3 separate regions of the Homo sapiens genome follow, and all the other regions are linked to region 3. The links are contacts of gene promoters, found by promoter capture Hi-C in blood cells and fetal thymus (Javierre and others, 2016). All regions are on one chromosome and are shown on one strand. The core of a region is centred on a gene start or on the middle of the fragment in contact, and the rest is flanking DNA. Distances in the headings are between cores, read along the strand shown.

The links. The method cuts DNA at HindIII sites, captures the fragments that hold promoters and counts their contacts. A CHiCAGO score of 5 or more calls a contact.
Region 1: a fragment that was not itself captured here is called in contact with the fragment with the promoter of DYRK2 in region 3 in 2 of 17 cell types (naive CD4 T cells and M2 macrophages); the score reaches 7.1 in naive CD4 T cells.
Region 2: a contact is called between a fragment that was not itself captured here and the fragment with the promoter of DYRK2 in region 3, in 5 of 17 cell types (M0 macrophages, M2 macrophages, M1 macrophages and 2 more). The highest score is 11.0, in M0 macrophages.

The regions. Positions count from the first base shown.
Region 1 is chr12:67,936,611-67,940,677 of GRCh38, reverse strand. The region is part of intron 2 of LINC01479 (long intergenic non-protein coding RNA 1479); the gene reads right to left. Among named protein-coding and RNA genes, the nearest start is that of LINC01479, 9.4 kb to the right of the region's middle. The HindIII fragment of the contact is 3,534 bases long and covers 1-3,275 here.
Region 2 is chr12:67,352,769-67,356,690 of GRCh38, reverse strand. No RefSeq gene overlaps it. Among named protein-coding and RNA genes, the nearest start is that of CAND1, 85 kb to the right of the region's middle. The HindIII fragment of the contact is 569 bases long and covers 2,077-2,645 here.
Region 3 is chr12:67,646,232-67,650,535 of GRCh38, reverse strand. It overlaps DYRK2 (dual specificity tyrosine phosphorylation regulated kinase 2), which reads right to left and starts at 1,791. Exons shown (of 3, transcript NM_006482.3): 1 at 1,354-1,791; 2 at 591-739. The coding sequence starts at 1,402. RefSeq lists silencers at 399-788, 949-1,608, 1,619-1,918, 2,019-2,128. The HindIII fragment of the contact is 7,364 bases long and covers 1-4,304 here.

The DNA.
Region 1 (4,067 bases), core at 259-2,758, 290 kb before region 3:
GTAAGATAGTTTTACAAGTGGATTTGCATATAGTATTTGTTACCAAAAAGCGATGGTACTGTAAATTTTGTTTTTTCAAATTTATATTGGCAATTGTAGTCTCTGAGAACACTTAAATAAATGAAAGCAGGACTTTTACCATTATGCTTTCAAGATTGAGAACCCTGAGTTCAAAAGCTGATACTCTAAAAACACCTAGATTGAATGAACACTTTTCAAAAACCAATAGGAGTAATAAATACAACCTTAAAATTTATCAACTGACTTTTCTTCGAATGAAATTGTTGTTAGAAAAATATAAGCATTTGTATAATTAAAAAAATAAAAATCCATCATGAACCTGTAATCGAACATTTTGGCCCTTGTATTTGCTTATTTTAAAATGGGTCCATTTTTGCATGTTTGTGTATATACTTCCAGTAATGACAATTTAGTGTGTCTATACAGTCCAGAAATGACAATTTAGTGTCTATCTTACCAGAATTACAAAGCAATTCTGAAACAAAGGTCATGAGAGAGTCCCATTACCTTCTCCAAAGGGTGCCAGGACAACTTTTCTATTATATTTTCTCCCAGAAACCTTTACTGTTCCTTGTTTATAATAACCATTATTTTTCTGAAAAAGACAGTATACAGCCCAAGCGTTAACATTAGTTTTGTAACTCTATTTTTATGAAAGCTATTTCAGCAGCTAGAGAAACTGACTTAGCTGGCCCCCAAACAGCCTTCTCTCAACATGCCATGCAGACAAGATAAACCAGCTGATGGTGTAACAGCAGAAATCTCCCTACACGGGCAGTTTAGGAGCTGGCAGAGGTGGTGGGAATTTTTCTGGGCAGTGTTCTGGACGGCCTGTCCTGTCTGGTCTGTCTTTATCCCATTGTTCCCTAAAGCTCATCCTCCATGGTAATGCCTCAGACTGTGATGGGCTGTTCACTCCACAGCATGAATTCTGACCATTAACTTAGTGATAGGACCCAGAGGAAAGGCTGTCCTCCCCACATCTGTTCTTTGGGAATGTCCTTTCACAGGAACAAACTGTGCCCTAACCTTGGTGATTAATTTTTATAATAGGAGCTCAGTAGGGTTAGATTGTGTTGATACATGTAAAAGTACATAGAAAGTTAAGAACGTTCTCTGAATAAAATAGTACCACCACTCCATTACTCTCTCTCCCTCTCTCTTTCACATACACACATACACCCTCCACAATGTTTTACGGGAAGATATAGCTGTAGAAGGAAGCCTTTTCCTCTCTAACCTTGTTCTTTTCTTGGCATTTGTCCATGAAAAGTGGGTCTACTTTTGCAAGTGTGTGTGCATATTTGTAATGAGGTAATGGTCTTAATTTATTCAGAGAACTCCCTTAATTTTCTACTCACCTTTAGATTACAGAGAAAGAAAATTTTGCCAATTCTTTTGATCTCTCATAAATGTATTATGGAGTGAGTCTTAACCTCTCCATCTTCTGCTTTCTCCTCCCCATAGGAGCAGATGTGGTTAATCTGATTGCTCCCTGGAACTCATCAGGCATCCACTTCTTCCTTACTAATGCACTGTGACCCCATATGATGTTATTCAGGCCACTACTGTGTCTAGATAAGACTCCACATCCCAATCTACCTTGCAGCTGGAAGTGGCCAATGAGATGCTAGCAGAAGTTGGTAGGTGGGGTTCCCAGTGTAACTTCAGTTCAGCTGGGATGTGTGTCCTTCCTCTGGCTCCTTCTATTTTCCTATTGCCCTGGGACAGGGTGCCATGTCTAGAGCTCTAGTGGCCATCTTTCAACCTTGAAGTGACCTTGAAAACAAAAGCTACAGGCCAAGTAGGTAGAGTGGAAAACAGAAAGATTCTCATTCCCTGATGATTGTGGAGAACATTATACTTCCTGGCTCATCTATCTCCAAATTTATTTTGGGAGAAGGAAAGACTGTTTTTAAGACAGTTTTTTTTTGTTCAATCCAGCTGAAGGTAGTCTGTTATAAACTATATAAAAGTCATGTATTCTAGAATAGCTCCACGCTGCCTCTTTCCCCCTTCTCTCTACTCTCACCCTTGGCTGCTGGTTTTTGCTTGCCTTGTAGCTTCTCATCTTCAACTGTTAAACCCAGTGCTTGGTCTGCTTGTCGCATGAAGGTTGGAAGCCTTCCACCATTGATGTCCACCATCACTGAACACAGGCATCCAGCGTTTGTCAAACCTAGCCCCCATTTGCTTCCCGGTACCCTAGATAGCAGCAGAATCCAGTCTGCTGATTTGAGGCAAATTAACCAATCAGATTATTATTCCCATTTCCGTAAAGAAGAGCAAGTAAAGAGGAATTGAGATGGTGGATCTTTCCTTTTTGGTGTTTCTGAGAGTCATGATGGAGATTCCTTCTTCTATGAGATAAGAGGAAAATGTGGGAAGAGAAAGTTTCCCTAAAGATACAAATCATTCATTGCTTATGTTTAGATTTCCATATCAGTCTTTGCCTCTCTTTCATTTCCACTTCTATAGCTGTGTTGAAGGGAGTGAAAGACTGGAGTGGAGAGATGGGTCACTAGATCCCAGCCCTTTCAGTGCAACATGCAATTCAGCTTTACCTCTCCTCTGGCTGGTGGTTCTGAGAGACACCAGGGGGTGCAGGAAGCAGGTGTGTGCTTCTCCACTGTACAAAGGTGCACGCACCCTCTCTCCTGTGCACCTGCCCAGCAACAAGGGATGGGGTTGGGACAAAGAATGTGGGGAGAGTAGACAGTGGCTTTGTCTCCCTGCTTTGGCTTCTACACTGTGTGGATCTTAAATTTGTTTGTGTAAATTACAAGTGAGGTGCAGGGAGATTATTGTGTTAGAAATGCACTTGTTTACAGTGGGTTAACGGTAGGCAGTCACCATTTGCAATGGCTGTTTGGAACTGAGGATTCACTGCACTTCCTACATTGCCCTTTCTTTCCATAGAAGGTTAAACTAACAACATTCGCCATCAAGAAAAGAGGAGTAGTTACCCTTTCCACATTCCAGAATCTTATTCTTTCTACTTCCTTGAAAGAAATCTGAAGGAAGAGAATCAAGATCTTTTGATTACACAAAAAGGGATGTGAACAGCCCCTCTTAAGGACCATCCTTCTTCCAGGTGCGATGAAGAATGCCCTAGGTTATTTTCTAAAAGGATCATCAGAGTTGACAATTTTGTGGACTGTCTGTTTTGAAAACTGAACTTAATATTCAGGACACCATGACAACTAGAGGAATCACCTACGGTTTGAATCTCAAAACTATGTGTCTCCCAAGCTTTGCCCCCATGGATGACCCACTCAGAGCCACAGTACATCAAATGGGCCACTCACTTGCTGTGAGAAACGAACAGCAGTGCATATGTCTAAGACTCAACTGCCACATGGTGACTCTATTTAAAGTTACTCAGTGTTCAGTGTTGCCAGTTTCATAATAACAACACCTAGTATTTGTATATAACCTTTGGCTGAAAAACACAGATGTTTAAAAAATATACTCAGGTCTTATCACAAATGTAGGTGGCAAGTGTGGTTCTTTTCTTCCTCCAGTTGAGGAAAATTAAGTAACAGGAATGAATGACTTGTGTAGGCTCACTAAAGCATTTGTAAAACCTTGGCTTTTATTTGCCTTCGGTTTAGTTTAATATAATTTGTTAAATGGGGTACTGATTTTTTTCTCATGCTTTTTTGAGATCTAATTCACAATTCACCTTTCTAAAGCACACACCATGATTTTTAATATATTCACAGTTGGCCAGGCACGGTGGCTCATGCCTGTAATCCCAGCACTTTGGGAGGCTGAGGCGGGTGGATCACGAGGTCAGGAGATCGAGACCATCGTGGCTAACGCTGTGAAACCCCGTCTCTGCTAAAAATACAGAAAAAAATTAGCCGGGTGTGGTGGCGGGCGCCTGTAGTCCCAGCTACTCGGGAGGCTGAGGCAGAAGAATGGTGTGAACCCAGGAGGCAGAGCTTGCAGTGAGCTGAGACTGCACCACTGCACTCCAGCCTAGGTGACAGAGCGAGACTCCATCTCAAAAAAAAAAAAAAAAGATATATATATATATATAT
Region 2 (3,922 bases), core at 1,112-3,611, 290 kb after region 3:
ATAACTTTCTCTCTCCCCTAATACAGAAATCAGAAATCAACTGGCAGGTGCACAAGCAAGATACCAAATTCCCGTTTCCCAGCCAAGCTCCTGTGGTGAAATTGTTCCTTGGCAAATGTCCCTTTTTTTTTTTTTTTTTTTTTTTAACTTTGCCTTAAGAGGAGGAAAAGCTGCCAAATGCCAACTTGGAGAATAGTGTACAAAATGCTAAATATAAAGAGTTGAGGAATATCAGGGGCTATTTTAAAAATTAGTCTCTAATAGAGCCTGTAGTATCCTCATATGTCTAGGAAACAGCATGGCAGTCATGTTGGTTTACACCAAAAGCAATAATTCTAGGTTCAAAAGCCCAATCTACAACAGCGCTAGTAAATCTCAGTATCTTTCAACTGAAGGCCAACCTATTTAACATTTCCTGCACTCAACAGCACAAACTCAGAAAATGAGAAGCTAAGTGGAAAAACAAGTGATCAGTGGAGTTGAAAGTACTTCTGCTCTCTCTTCAGATATGACTTGGAAGTCAAATATTACAATAAAAGAGCTCACCCAAGGCTCAAATCTTGAATAGTAACTCACGCTGGTCATAAGCTCCACAATGGGAGGCTTTGAGGGGCAAAAACGCATGCATTTTGTACCTTGATATTTATGATGTTCTATCGCCACCTCCTGGAAGAAAAGACCAAGAACGCCAAAAAAAAAAAAAAAAAAAAAAAAGGGTGCTTAGTATTAAGGCTTCCAGTGAAGATAAATTTCTTCAATTCTCAAGAAAGGTAAAGACATTCTGCAGCCGCTGACAGTTCCATTTCAGATGAATTAGCATAATGTTGGGCAAACAGCAAACCTAAAAGGCAAATGTTCAAGACTCTAGCGTCAGTTATTTGCCAGCAAAAGATAACATCAAACATATGAGTAATGAGCCTTTAAAGTTGCCAGTCCCCAGGGAAGATTTGAGTTCTCATTAGTAAAGAGATATGAGATCCCATTTTGCCAGAGTCAATAGCACCGCATGAACACAGAGAGATACTAGAAGAATAATTTCCACACTTGGCTCTGAAAATAATCATCCTTATCTTTGCATTTTAAGTCTCAGAATTTGGCAAAAGAGTTCTAAGGATTTTAAAACATTAATAACAAGACTAAGAATGTTCCCAGATGAACTCTTATTTCTCAGACTATCTTGTTGGAGTTATTTACACATATGGCACAAACAAAGCCAAATGAATTGGAATATTTGACTTTCTCTCCACAAGATCTTACCAGTCTTTGTTTCTCAAGGTTTAGTTTGCATAAGGACAAAGGAATACAGTCGAATACTTAAAAGTATTATTTTAAAACACACTTTTATCTTGATAGTTATGTCTTTTCCATCAATATCTCTATTCACTATGTGAAAAAAAAAAGTCATACAACTTCAGAGTAGAAAGCATTTCAGTCCAACCACTTCACAGTCGCAAATCACAAGCTATTCACCCAGGAGGAAGAGCTGCTAAAGTCAATTCCCACTAAATTTCACCAGGGGCAGTTTAAACCTTCTGTTCTGTCTAGACATTTTGCCCTCCTCTGCCCAAACATCCTGACTTTTAAGGAGTTTTACAGCTTAGTCAACTCACCAACATCCTGAAGTAGGCTGAGATTGCAGATTTCTTTTCTGAATACCAATTATGCTTATTTATAAAACACAGAACATGGAGCAGAGAATTTAAGATTTTAGAGCTGCAAGTCACCTTCCTTTTATAATCCACAAAAGTGATTTGCTGTGATACCTGATGGCCTCTTTTGGAAAACAGAAGGCTTGAACACAGCATTGAAATGTGTCAGACTTTCTTTTTAAAATTTTTTCAGCTTCTTTTGAGGGTATATCCTGTAAAGCACTATGAGAAACATCCGAAAGACACAATTCTTATCCCCCAAAAGCCAATTATGTTGTCTGACTTCGGTTTCCTAAGCTACCCACAAACTGAAAGGCAAGGTATGGTGGTCAAAGAGTAAAGTCGACGTCTACACAGAAGCTTCCCTCTTTCCCTCAGCTCTGCCTCTTTCCAGTGCTGCTCATGTGATATGATACTTAGTCAAGCTTACTTTTTAAGTCAGCCACTTCGTGGGAACACTTTCCGGAGTGATGGCCAGCAGAATAGCTAAACTTTGTTACTGCCAAACCTCTTCTTGAGACAGGAACTCTGCCTACACAAAGCAAAAACAATATTTCAGCATCCCACCCTCCCTTTGAACCCACATTTGGAGTCATAGTTTCAGTTTTCATAACTATCCGGAAAACTGAAATGCTTCACTGGCCCACAACCAAACTCTTGGGCTCTTTTCAAGTCTGCCATCTCCCCCTTTTCATTCCACTTCCTCCCTCACTGTGAAACCTTGCTTGCTTGGACACTCCTGTAGTTTTAGACACCTTCCTGTCGATCTTTGAGCTATTTACCAGCTGAACATTTGTATTGTTAGTGTTAAATGATAAATTCATATAGCTAAGACACTTGACCAAGATAGACCGATACTATCATTTGAGCAACTGTCTCCTGCAATCTGTCATCACAATGAGATAGCCATGTTCTAACCTATCAGTAAGATTATACAAAAGTAAACAGAGTTGTCGGTATAAAATTGATTGTCAGCCGGGCACAGTGGCTCAAGCTTGTAATCCCAGCACTTTGGGAGGCCGAGGTGGGTGGATCACAAGGTCAGAAGTTTGAGACCAGCCTGGCCAAGACAGTGAAATGCCGCCTCTTCTAAAGATACAAAAATTAGCTGGGCATGGTGGCAGGTGCCTGTAATTCCAGCTACTTGGGAAGCTGAGGCAGGAGAATCTCTTGAACCTGGGAGGTGGAGGTTGCAGTGAGCCAAGATCGCGCCACTGCACTCCACAGAGCTAGACTCCATCTTGAAAAAAAAAAAATGCCACTGAGAGGTCATCTTTTATGAAATTCAAAAGTTTCAGAAATGTATCTAAATTGTCACCAATCCTTTCCCTGTAGTGTTCACCAGCCTCTGATCAGTTGATTTTAGGCAAATTTCTCACCTTCCACACTTGCAACACAAACTCAACTTCCAGCATACAGAGCTACTTGAAGGTTTCCCTAAATACACTAGGCACCCTCAGTCACTACACTACATATATGCTCTTGCTTTTTTGCCCAATGCCTGCCTTTTGACAGTCTGAGTAATGCCTACTTGTTTTCAAACTTCAGCTCAGGAGCTGCCTTCGCTTGTCTCATCCAAGCAGTCTGCAGCCCCTTGCTTTTATGCTCCTACAAGACCCTATTTATAACTCCATCACAGTGCCCATCATATGCTGGTAAAATGGTTTGTTTTCCCCTCTCACCTGCCATAGGTTCATTCTGAAAAAAGATTAAGAGTTTGACTCTGCAACCCCAGCACCCCAGGCTGTATCTAACACGTGGTAGGCAAACTGCAAATGTTTGCCAGATGGATGACCATTCCTGATGGCCAAGACATTAAGAAAGGGGCTGTTTTCCAGTGGTCCATAGCACTATGGACAGCTAAGATGACTGCCTCACCAGTTCAGAAGAAGAATAAGACATGCTCTCACTTACTTTCCTCCCTCCCCTTGTAACATGTATCTGGCGTTCTAGACAGCCCCATTTCCCCATCAGCCAAAGTTTTGGACCTATCAAGAATAAATCTTTAATTGAAGTCTATTAGTCTGTTCTCACACTGCTATACCTGATACTGGGTAATTTATGAAGAAAAGAGGTTTAATTGACTCACAGTTCCACAGGCTATACAGGAAGCATGAGGCTAGAAGGCCTCAGGAAACTTACAATCACGGCAGATGACTAAGGGAAAGCAAGCACATCTTACCATGATGAATCAGGAAAGAAAAAGAAGAGGGAGGTGCCACATGCTTTTAAACGATCAGATCTCATGAGAACTCACTCACTACCAGGAGAAC
Region 3 (4,304 bases), core at 542-3,041:
TGACTGCTGCGGCGGCCCTTATTTTTGTTAATGTTGATTACAATTTCTGCTGTGCTCAAACCTGTAGCACTCATAAAACATGCTTACACACGCGGGGGACAATTGGCGATGCTCCCTGCTGGCTGGAGCCAGGCCTGGGAGGCTCTTTGGGGGATCGATTTTCCGGGCAGGCCGGTCTGGCTGTCCCCTAACACGTATCTGTTTCTATAAATACCCACTACCCACGGGGAGGTGGGGGAAGGACAGAGATGTTTACCGGGTCAGGGAAGGGAACTCTGGGATGCAAGGACGAAAAATGAGGAAAGAAGGAAAGCAGCAAGGAGGAAGTTCCTAGGAAGAGGAGGTCATGGGTGGGCGAGCTCTGGAGGGGAAGTAAGGGGCCCACGCCACGAATCTTCCTTTGTGGCTGCAGCTTTGGGCTCGCCCAACTTAACCAGGGCGGCGTCGACGAGAGACCATCGGCCCGAGGCGTGGGGCTGCTTGTATCTCGACCCCTCTTCTCCCGGCGTCAGACCCCTCCAAGTCCGGGTGCTTCGGCCTGGGGCCCCTCCCGCCCCCACCGCCCGGGCCGCCCGCGGGCTGGGTCTCACCGTGTGGGCTGCGGCGGCAGCGTTGCTGGCCCGGAGAGGCGGCAGGGCGATGGGGGAGGGCGGGCCAGTCCCCACTCCGCTCCGGGTGGCCCCTGCACCGAGCCCCGGGGAAGCCTGAAGCTGACGAACGGCGCTGTCCCCACCTCGGCCTGGAAGCCACGTGCGGGAGGAGACAAAAGAGGGTCAGGGGGGAGAAAGTCACCCAGACCCCCCCTCCAACCCCGCTGGGCAGCGACAACCCTCTTCCAAAGAAAGACGGAGGAAGAGACCGGGGCAGTAAAAACGGGCGTTCGGGTCACGGCTCCCCAGCGCACACCCACGGGCGGGGCGCGGGCAGCTGCAAAGTTAAGTGGGGCCCTGGCGCGCGAGTTCGCGACCCGGCGGGGGAGCCGGGCCGCGCCGGGGCTAGGCGGCCCACGTTGCAGACGGCCAGCAGCCGGGAGGTGGGTTTGGACAGCTGAGCAGGGAGCCACGGCCACGCCAAGCCCCGGGCAGCGCAGGGCGGGGCGGCAGGCCTGGACGGTCCCCGCCCGGGCCCCCGGCAGGCAGAAGCCTCTTCGGGCCGAGGGCTCCCCGCGGAGGGGCCTTCGGGGCCGCGCACAACCCTGCATGGAGCCCGGGGCGCGTCGTCCGCCCGGGGGCTCCCCCGCGCCGCGCCGCCGACTTTGTTCGAGGTCCCGCAGGCAGCGGCCGCCCGCGCCACAGGGGCTGCCCAGGGCCGGCGGGGGTCCGGGGATGCGGCGCGGCGGCACGGCCTCCTTACCGGTCGGGTAGGCGGCGGGAGCGGCGGCCGAAGGTTTCCTGGTTAACATGGCCGCTGGAGAGGAAAATGCATTTCAGGGCTGCCGTCGCCGCCGCCGGTCCTGCTGCTACTTCTGGCGGCCGCCGCCGCCGCCTCCCGGCCGCCCCTCGCGCGGGTCCCCGGCGCCTCGTCGCCGCCTCGCGTCTGCTACAGCCAGACACACACAGTCCACTGCATCCCCTCGGCCGGGGCCCGCCGCCGCGAGCCCCCCGCTCTCCTCCTCGCCGCCGTCCTCCTCTTCCTCGGGCGGCTGCAGCACCCTCCGGCCCGTGCACATGCCTCGCCCTCCCCTGCGCGCCGCGGGCCTCCCCGTCTCCCTCACATAGGGGCGCGGGGAGCTGGAAGCGCTGCGAGGACCGAAGACCGCCTGGCTCGGGAGCCTCTCCCGGGCCCGCGCGCGCGCGCCCCCGCGCACTCACACACAGGCGCCGGCGCGCGGCCCCGCCCCCGCCGCCCTCCGCCGCCCTCCTCCGCCGCCGCAGGCCCCGCCCCCGGCTCCCCCGGCCGCGGCCACGCACACCCCACCCCCACCCAACCTCCCGCCCGGCTCCTCTCAGTCCCCCGGTTTGCGCGCAGCCGCCCCTCCGCTCCCCGGAAAACTCGGCGGCCTCCGCTCGCCCTCCTCCGCCCCCTCCGGCCATCTGCACTGCTTCCCTCGGCTCCACTCCGGCGACCTTTTCCCCTCCCCGGCCCCGCGGCGCCCCTTCTCTGCCCTACAGCTCAACCTACCGCTGCTGCCCTCCGGCCGAAAGCGCCGCAGAGACCCCTCCCCTGCCATGCGCACCCCTAAACATAAATGCATTTTCAGCTCTTCGAACTGAATGGCTGCTCACAGACAGTACTGCTTCCCCGTCCCCCCATTCTTGGTCCCAGCGACTTAGCCACTCCCCTCTCCCCAATTCATCATGTAGATAACTTAGTTGTGCGAGGGTCACCTCGGAGAGGCAAGTCCCGGGAGGGGCGGCCGCTGAGCTCGTTGACCCTGAGCAGGGGCGAAAGAGGGGGCTGCCCTCCCACCTCCACCACACACCCTCCCCGGTTTACTGACACCAAGTGACCGCTCGCCAGTCGCTAGGACAAGGGGAGGCAGAGAGGCGCGTGTGGACGGCAGCTGGGGAAGCAGTTGGCTGTGGGTTGCTAGGCAAAAATAAACATCAGAGACATCTCCTATTTCCTTACAACTCCGAGCCTTTCCCCTGCGCGGCCACTGGGAGAGACACACCTTCCTTTCAGCTCTGCGGTGAGGGAGCGACACCTCGAATTCCTCTCACCCCACCCGACACATCTCTTTCCCCCTTCCCTTCCAAGACACGTGGAGAATTTCCCTGCCTTTTTTATTCGCCATATACAACCTCTCTTTTCCTTGAAGACCAAAAAAAAATTGCTTTCCCGTCTCACATCCGCGCCTCGTCGTGCGTGGCACACAGTGCGCCTCTGTTCAAAGGTCACAGGTTTTGCCACTTCAACTGTGAGAGGAGGTGGGGTGGGAAAGCCCGACAAATCCCGGATGACGGGGCAGAGTTATGCCATGCACTTCCTTCTCGAGAGGTGCCTAGTTTCTGAAGTTCTCTTGGGGCCAGGGGTCCATTATGCTCTGCCCCGCCCGAGTATCTCTGGCTCCTGGCTGGACCTACTGTGCAGGCCCGAACTAGTGCAGACTCCAGTCGGAAGGGAGCCACCTCCTGCGGAGTTTCATCCACTCTACTGTTTGCAAATTGTCATAGCAACCTCCTACAGAGCGCATCCGCAGCTTTATACAAACGCCAAAAACTGTTTCAAGGTACAGTGTGACCCTCTCAGAGTCTCTGGGACTCCTAAAGAGGCCTCCAAGTTAGGGTCACTGGGAGAGGGAACCTGTGACAAAAAGAATTTTCCCTAGTATTACGTCCCTCCAAACAAAACAAAACAAAACAAAACAAAACAAAACACCCTTTCGGGGCCTTCTCCTAATAAAGTAGACCCACAGTAAAATAATCCAATAATATGCCTTTAGAGGAATCATGACCTGAACTGACCCTAGCAAGAAATATCCCCCTATGCTTGTCACTGGCGACCATCACATTTAAATCCACATGCGGAAGCATATTTAGTGTTTAGAATCGACTAAAAGAAAAGGGCTACTAAGTAGCAGAGATGACACTAGAACCGGTTTTCTGACTCCCAGTCTGATTTCACTATGACTTCCATCACACTACTTTCCTTACACTTTCAAGAAAGCTCACACCTCTTTTTTCTCCTTTCAAAACAATTATTTTCATACCATTTTCCTTTTTAAAATGAGTACTCCATACAACTGATGTTCAAATAAAAAAATGAAACAAAAAAATCAATTTTAATATAATATGACACCCCTTTTTGCTTAAGTTATTCGTACAATACTTCAGTAGAAGCTAAATATGCCACTGTTTTCTCATGAATAAAATAAATGCTAGTTACTGGAAGCCATAGTTTACGATTTCCAAATTAGTAATATTAATTTACTCATTTAACATGAGGAAAAGGAGCACTGATTCTTTTTTTTTTTTTTTTTTGACAAAGGATCACAATCATTAACTTTAAGAAAGAAAAAGACAATAGGGAACTTTTTGTAGTATATTGTTTTATATCATGACAAATATAATTTCAATTTTGTATATTTTTTGTGGCTTAACATAAGGAAATATTGCAGTTGACCTACCCCATAGCTATTTTGATTATAAATGGTACATCTTTGAAAATTATATTAATTTTTACTGACCTCTAAGTGACTATTAACCATTGCTTAGATTTTCCTCATTCTGTTAAATATTCTATTAAATATTGACATCTCCCTGAGTGAATGTTAAATAGAAAAGCTGTACAAACACACTCCTGGGGCTTTGGGGAGAGTGAAGTGGGTAAATTTGGGGAGTTATTTCCCTCAAATTTTATTA